Linked DNA regions of Homo sapiens: region 1 is linked to region 2. The links are contacts of gene promoters, found by promoter capture Hi-C in blood cells and fetal thymus (Javierre and others, 2016). All regions are on one chromosome and are shown on one strand. The core of a region is centred on a gene start or on the middle of the fragment in contact, and the rest is flanking DNA. Distances in the headings are between cores, read along the strand shown.

The links. Contacts are between HindIII fragments. The CHiCAGO score rates a contact against its expected background, and 5 or more counts as called.
Region 1: a contact is called between a fragment that was not itself captured here and the fragment with the promoter of PIK3C3 in region 2, in 2 of 17 cell types (non-activated CD4 T cells and monocytes). The highest score is 5.2, in non-activated CD4 T cells.

Annotation. Positions count from the first base shown.
Region 1 is chr18:42,003,993-42,007,218 of GRCh38, forward strand. PIK3C3 (phosphatidylinositol 3-kinase catalytic subunit type 3) reads left to right here. Exons shown (of 25, transcript NM_002647.4): 10 at 364-549. Among named protein-coding and RNA genes, the nearest start is that of PIK3C3, 50 kb to the left of the region's middle. The HindIII fragment of the contact is 674 bases long and covers 965-1,638 here.
Region 2 is chr18:41,953,704-41,956,957 of GRCh38, forward strand. PIK3C3 (phosphatidylinositol 3-kinase catalytic subunit type 3) reads left to right here and starts at 1,531. Exons shown (of 25, transcript NM_002647.4): 1 at 1,531-1,656. The coding sequence starts at 1,589. RefSeq lists an enhancer at 1,309-1,488. The HindIII fragment of the contact is 3,603 bases long and covers 268-3,254 here.

The sequences.
Region 1 (3,226 bases), core at 52-2,551, 50 kb after region 2:
ATATAGGTTTTCTCTAAGGCATCTTAGAGTTCGTGAGAAATGCCTCAACTATTTCCATGTCTTGAGCCCTGCAGTATTTTAAAATAACAATAGCAAAATGAAGAAAAGCCAAAACAAATTAAAAAATTCATAGTGCTCGCAAATGATTTGGCCTGGAAAATATAAAGATACAGGGAACATGCTTTTTTTCTGTCCTGCAGTGCTTCTATAAGATCATATATATAACTTCATTTAGTGCTTACACAAGGAGTCTATCACTGACTCCGTGGCTCTGTCATTAGGACCTAGTGGAACTCTGCCTAGTCAACTTCTCTATCCCAGGAAATAGGCTGTTTCTAATTTTTAAATATTTTCTGATTTTAGGCCTTGACAAAATTCTTGAAATGTGTTAATTGGGATCTACCTCAAGAGGCCAAACAGGCCTTGGAACTTCTGGGAAAATGGAAGCCGATGGATGTAGAGGACTCCTTGGAGCTGTTATCCTCTCATTACACCAACCCAACTGTGAGGCGTTATGCTGTTGCCCGGTTGCGACAGGCCGATGATGAGGTGCATTATTATTTATTATTCTGCTTCAATGGGTCATTTTAAACTAGAGCCTAATTATAAACTATGTGTGTATGTGTGTGTGAGAGTGAGAGAGAGAGTGTGTGCACATGCAAGAGAGATTTTTAGAAGGGAAGAGGATATACTAGGTGTATTTTCAGAAGGAAAATTAAAATATGCCTCAGAGGACTCCTCTGTGAAATGAAAATTTACTTCCTGATCTGTTACGTGGTAGGACAGTCTCTCCCAGGACATTTACCTGGCAGCAGAGCTTGTATTGCTCTGTCTGGAAGAAGGAATTCTAGTGAAAAATGGTTTAATGCAGCACCAGCTAGGGAATAATTCAGATCTCCTCTATCAGTCAGTATACAACAAGCCACATTTAATTGTAGCCTTGAAAAGCCCTTGGGGCCTTTAAAGCTTAGAGATGCATGGTCATCTTCCTCTCCTTCAAACTCGCCTTTTAAACTTTCAGCTGATGACAATTATATGTATATGTAGATTTTCTGAAGGGGTTTTGGATCCTTGGAAAGCAAAGATTGCCAACTATATGCTGGCTATTTATATACAGTTATTTATCAGTTAATGACAGGGAAGTGTTCTGAGAAATGTGTCCTTAGGGGATTTCATCTTTGTGCAGACATCATGGAGTATACTTACCCAAACCTAGATGGTAAAGCCTACTACACACTGAGGCTGTGTACTCCTAGGTTACAAACCTGTATAGCATGTTGTTGTACTAAATACCTTAGGCAGTTGTAACGCAATGCTAAGTATTTGTGTATCTAAACATAGAAAAGGTACAGTAAAAACAGAGTATTATAATCTTATGGGATTACTGTCATATATGTGGTCCTGTCTTGGCTGAAGCATTGTTATGTGGCACATGACTGTTCATGTAAGGCCATCAGGGAAGGAAGAACACTTTTTTGACAAAAAGCATTGCTGGATTTTGGGCTTTAATAATTCTTTATAGATAGACTAATCCAGCAACTTGTTTTCTTAATTTTTATAGGGTGAATATGTTCTTAAACATAACCTAATAGTTTATGCTAGCCAGCAGTACTTTATGGGATGTGGAGTAACTTCTCAAGCTTCAATATATATAGCAATGTCGATCGCATAGAACAACTATTATCAAATACCTTTTTAAGAGGGAGGGGACAGTGAGATCATTTTGAATTAGTGGTATCTGAATTTCAAGAAGCAAATTAAATATTTATTAAAGTTGATCATTGTATGTGTGTATTTAATTATGGTGAAATTTAAACACTAAAGTAAATAGTATAATGAACCCCAACAAATAATTCATCTGTCTTCAGCAGTTGCCAATTTATAACCAATCTTGTTTCATCTGTAACACTGCTCAGTCTCTCCACCCCAACCCCCTAACCTCTACTAGATTACATCCTTCTGACTTCTGGCCTACTGGCTTTAACAAATCAGGGGGCTCCCATAACCCTCTCCTTGGGTGTGATAATTTGCTAGAATGACTCACAAAACTCAGGGAAACATTACTTACTATTGATTTATTATGAAGGGTATCCTAAAGGATACAGAAGAACAGCTAGATGAAATGATAATTTGCCAGAATGACTCACAAAACTCAGGAAAACATTACTTACTACTATTGATTTATTATGAAGGGTATCCTAAAGGTTGCAGATGAACAGCTAGTTGAAATGACACATGGGTTGAGGTCCTGAGCACAGGAGCTTCTGTCCCCATGGAGTTTGCAGTATAGCACCCTCCTGGCATGTGGGTGCATTCTTCTTCACCAACCCAAAAGCTCTCAGAATGCTGTGCTTTTCTGAGAAAAGCAGAAAAAATCAGAGTTTTTGTGGAAGCGCCATTACATTGGCATGATTGATTAAATCATTGGCTGCTGGCCGATTAAGTCAATCTTCAGTTCTCTCTGTTCCCCAGAGGTTGAGAGGGTAGAGCTTAAAGTCCCACCCTCTAATCACATGGCTGGCTTTTCTCTCAGCCAACCCCCATCTTTAGGGGCTTTCCAAAAGTTACCTCATGAACATAAACTCAGGTGTGATTGAAAGGGGCTTGTTAGGAATAACAAAAAAAATTTCAATGCCAGCATGCTATATTTTGTCCTTTTTATTTTAGCATGTCCTGAACTCTGTCACTGTAGATCTGCCTTATTCTTTCTAAATAACAGCATGATATTTTACTGTGAATTTTTTTGTTAATTTACTTAACCATTGGGCCTCTTTTATAGGCTGTTGTTCCCATTCTTTTCCTGTAACTGTATTTTAGTGAAGAGGTGTGTGGGGGAGGGTAGGTGGGTATGTTTTAAAAATCATATTCTTTTTTTTTTTTTTTTTTTTTGAGATGGAGTCTTGCTCTGTCTCCTAGGCTGGAATGCAGTGGCGTGATCTCAGCTCACTGAAAGCTCTGCCTCCCAGGTTCACGCCATTCTACGGCCTCAGCCTCCCAAGTAGCTGGGACTGCAGGTGCCCGCCACCACCCCTGGATACTTTTTTGAATTTCTTTTTTAGTAGAGACGGGGTTTCACCGTGTTAGCCAGGATGGTCTTGATCTCCTGACATCGTGATCCGCCCCCATCGGCCTCCCGAAGTGCTGGGATTACAGGCATGAGCCACCACACCCGGCCTTAAAAATCATATTCTTGAATAAACTGCTTGCGTTATAATTATTGAGCCAA
Region 2 (3,254 bases), core at 281-2,780:
ATACTTTAGTGATGTCCGTCTTAAAATGCAGCACTTAGAAATAAAGACATAGGCTGGGCGAGGTGGCTCACGCCTGTAATCCCAGCACTTTGGGAGGCCGAGGAGGGCGGATCACGAGGTCAGGAAATCGAGACCATCCTGGCTAACACGGTGAAACCCTGACTCTACTAAAAAATACAAAAAATTAGCCGCGCGTGACGGCGGGCACCTGAAGTCCCAGCTACTTGGGGGGCTGAGGCAGGAGAATGGCATGAACCTGGGAGGTGAAGCTTGCAGTGAGCCGAGATCGCGCCACTGCACTCCAGCCTGGGCAACAGAGAGACGGGCACTCCAGCCTGGGCAACAGAGCGACTCTGTCTCAAAAAAAAAAAAAAAAAAAAAAAAAGAAATGACATAGCAGTTTGGGAGGCCAGGGCAGGCAGATCACTGGAGGTTAGGAGTTTGAGACCCGACTGGCCAACATGGTGAAACCCCATCTCTATTAAAAATACAAAAATTAGCCTGACTGGGTGGCGGGTGCCTGTAATCCCAGCTACTTGGGAGGCTGATGCAGGAGAATCGCTTGAACCCAGGAGATGGAGGTTGCAGTGAGCCGAGATGGTGCCAGCCTGGGCGACAATAGCAAAACTCCATCTCAAAAAAAAAAAAAAAAAAGAAATAAAGGCATAGAAAATGGAGACTTTCATTCAATATCATCATTAATAACCAGTAAGTAGGAAGTATTAAACTCAGCAATGCATTAGACAGCTAGCGGGGCAAGACACGGAAGTAAATGGCACACTGGTCTTACCTTCCAAGAGTTTTCAATCTAATTGGAAGGGAGTATTACAATTTTAGATTATAATAATTATAAAAACAAACATTATAGGAGCTCAGAGGGTTTAGAGATCTGTGTTCTGTAGTTATTACAGGAGGCCTCTAGATTCTAACTTGGGTTAGGGCTTGAAACTACATTGAATTTGAATATTCCCAGTTTAAACATGCACGCAAGTATTATGTCCAAAGTAGCATGAATACTGACAACACCAAACATGAAACCCAGATTTATTTATTCTCTATTTAGTCCTTTCCCTACTCTTTAGAGCAGAAAGAGAAAATCCTTGCTTGAGATAGCAAATTAGTGCTACACTTTTTGGGAAGGCCACTGGAATTTAAACCTGGCAAAATTCCAATTTTTGTGCTTGTAACCTGTTTAGCCGGCAGCCAGTGAAAGCTGTTATAATTCTTTTTGAATTGAATTTTCTTTCGTATTGTTTTAGGTACAGCTCAAGCTCAAATGATAGCGTCTCTTTTTCTTTAAAAAAAAAAAAAAGTGCTGTCAAGACAGGAAAACTGGAATGTAACCAGATTAGCCGTTTCCCGTATACATTTGCCCTTAAGCAAGATGGTGGGCGCCTTGTGCACATGCGCGGAAGGGTTGTTTCGGCGGGGAGTTCCGCCGCGTCGGAACTCGCTCCGGGCGTGGATTGGCGGCTTGCTGGCGGGGGCGGAACCGGAAGTTCCGTGTTGTGGGGCTCAGCTGGTTCATTTATGTTGTTTTTCCTGTACCTAAGTTCCCGCTGTAGGTGGTACCTTTGCAGACGGTGCGATGGGGGAAGCAGAGAAGTTTCACTACATCTATAGTTGTGACCTGGATATCAACGTCCAGCTTAAGATGTAAGAGAACACTCGGGACAGGGAGTGGGATTGCTGGGGCGTAGGGACGTGGGGGCAGGGGCCTGTTGGGAGTGAGAGGCAGAAAGTACGTGACTCGTCTCAAGGCCCAGATTGGGGGCGGCTGTGAGGGCTGTAGCCAGGGAGGCGCGAGAGAGTGGATCGTGGAGAGGGGCTCTTTTGGAAAAGGATTTAATACGTGGTCTCCGTGAGAAGCACAGCAGTAGGAATAGCCCTTAAGTTCCGCTGTATTTTACAGTCTTTAAAGTTTTTGCTGTTCAGCCTTTTGAGAGTTTATTACTATTTCATTGTAAATTAAGAAATCAAGTCTCGTCGTAAGTAAGAGGACGATCTTTATTTTGGAACGGGGCTTGTAGGGTGGAATGAAGGCTTCAGAAATTATGGAGAGGTAGACACAGGCAGATGCGATAGTTGAGAATAAGATGAGCACATGGTGTATTAGCACGGGAGGTGATAGAGGCCTAGAGTGAATCTTTGGGTAGTATGGCAGTGTTTAGTCAGGGAAGTTGGGAGTAAGTCGAAGATGAGGGTTCCAGTTTCAAAGGTACCAAGAAGATAGGAGAAAAGAGTCTTTGCAGGAAAACGTTGGGGCACCACGGCTGAAGTAAAGGTCAAGGGCGTGATATCTTGAGATGAGGATAATAGAACTGGTATAATGACGAGGGATGCACAAGACAGAGTTGGAAATTATGTCCCTTTTAAGGTGGTCATGTAGGAGTGTTGTCAAAGCTATCACAAATTATTGACCATAGCATCATCCATAATTAATAAACATTTCTTGTGTATGTTCAATTAATATTCAACAAATATGTGTCGGTCAAAGGCCTGCAGTAAGTGATAGATAAATTTTCTCAGTTGTCTGATGTACCTTTGAATGATCATTTCATTTTATTTTCAGAAGTCCCTTATTCGCTGACAAATACTTTACTTTTTAGTTTGTGGTGGTGGTGGTAAAAGTAATATGTCAACAACCACCTTGTACCTTTGTATGATACTTTATACACTCATTTAAGGTATTTTCCATAGCATACACCACTAGTAGTTTATACAGGATCAATATTGATAAAGGGCTTTCCTTCAGCTTGATGCTCAGTATTTCTTGGATATATGAATGCATTTTTTGAAATGTTTGAACATTAAAAATAAAGAAAAAGCCAAAAAAACCGGTCCCTTTTTTTTTTTTTTTTTTTTTTGGAGACAGGGTCTCACTCTGTCTCCTTTCCCTTTGGGATGACGTTCTGCTTCTTTTGCTTCAACTCTCATGCATTGTTCAGGATCATTTCAGACATCTATCTGGGGTACTAAGTCCCTTCCCCATGCCAGCCTAAGTACTCTTGAGACTCTGATTTATCTTACTGTAATGGGAAGAATATTGGCTTTGGCCTCCCTGCCCTAGTGTTTATTCTCAGCTCTGTTACTTACGTTGTGACTGTGGATAAGGAGTTTAGTTTATAAGTCTCTGTTTCCTCATTTATAAAATGAGAATATGGTGAAAATTATGTAAGAAAGAAAATATAAAATGCCTGGCACAGTATCTGATGTAATCTTGATGTCTAAAAAATGTTCCTCCCTCTGTGATA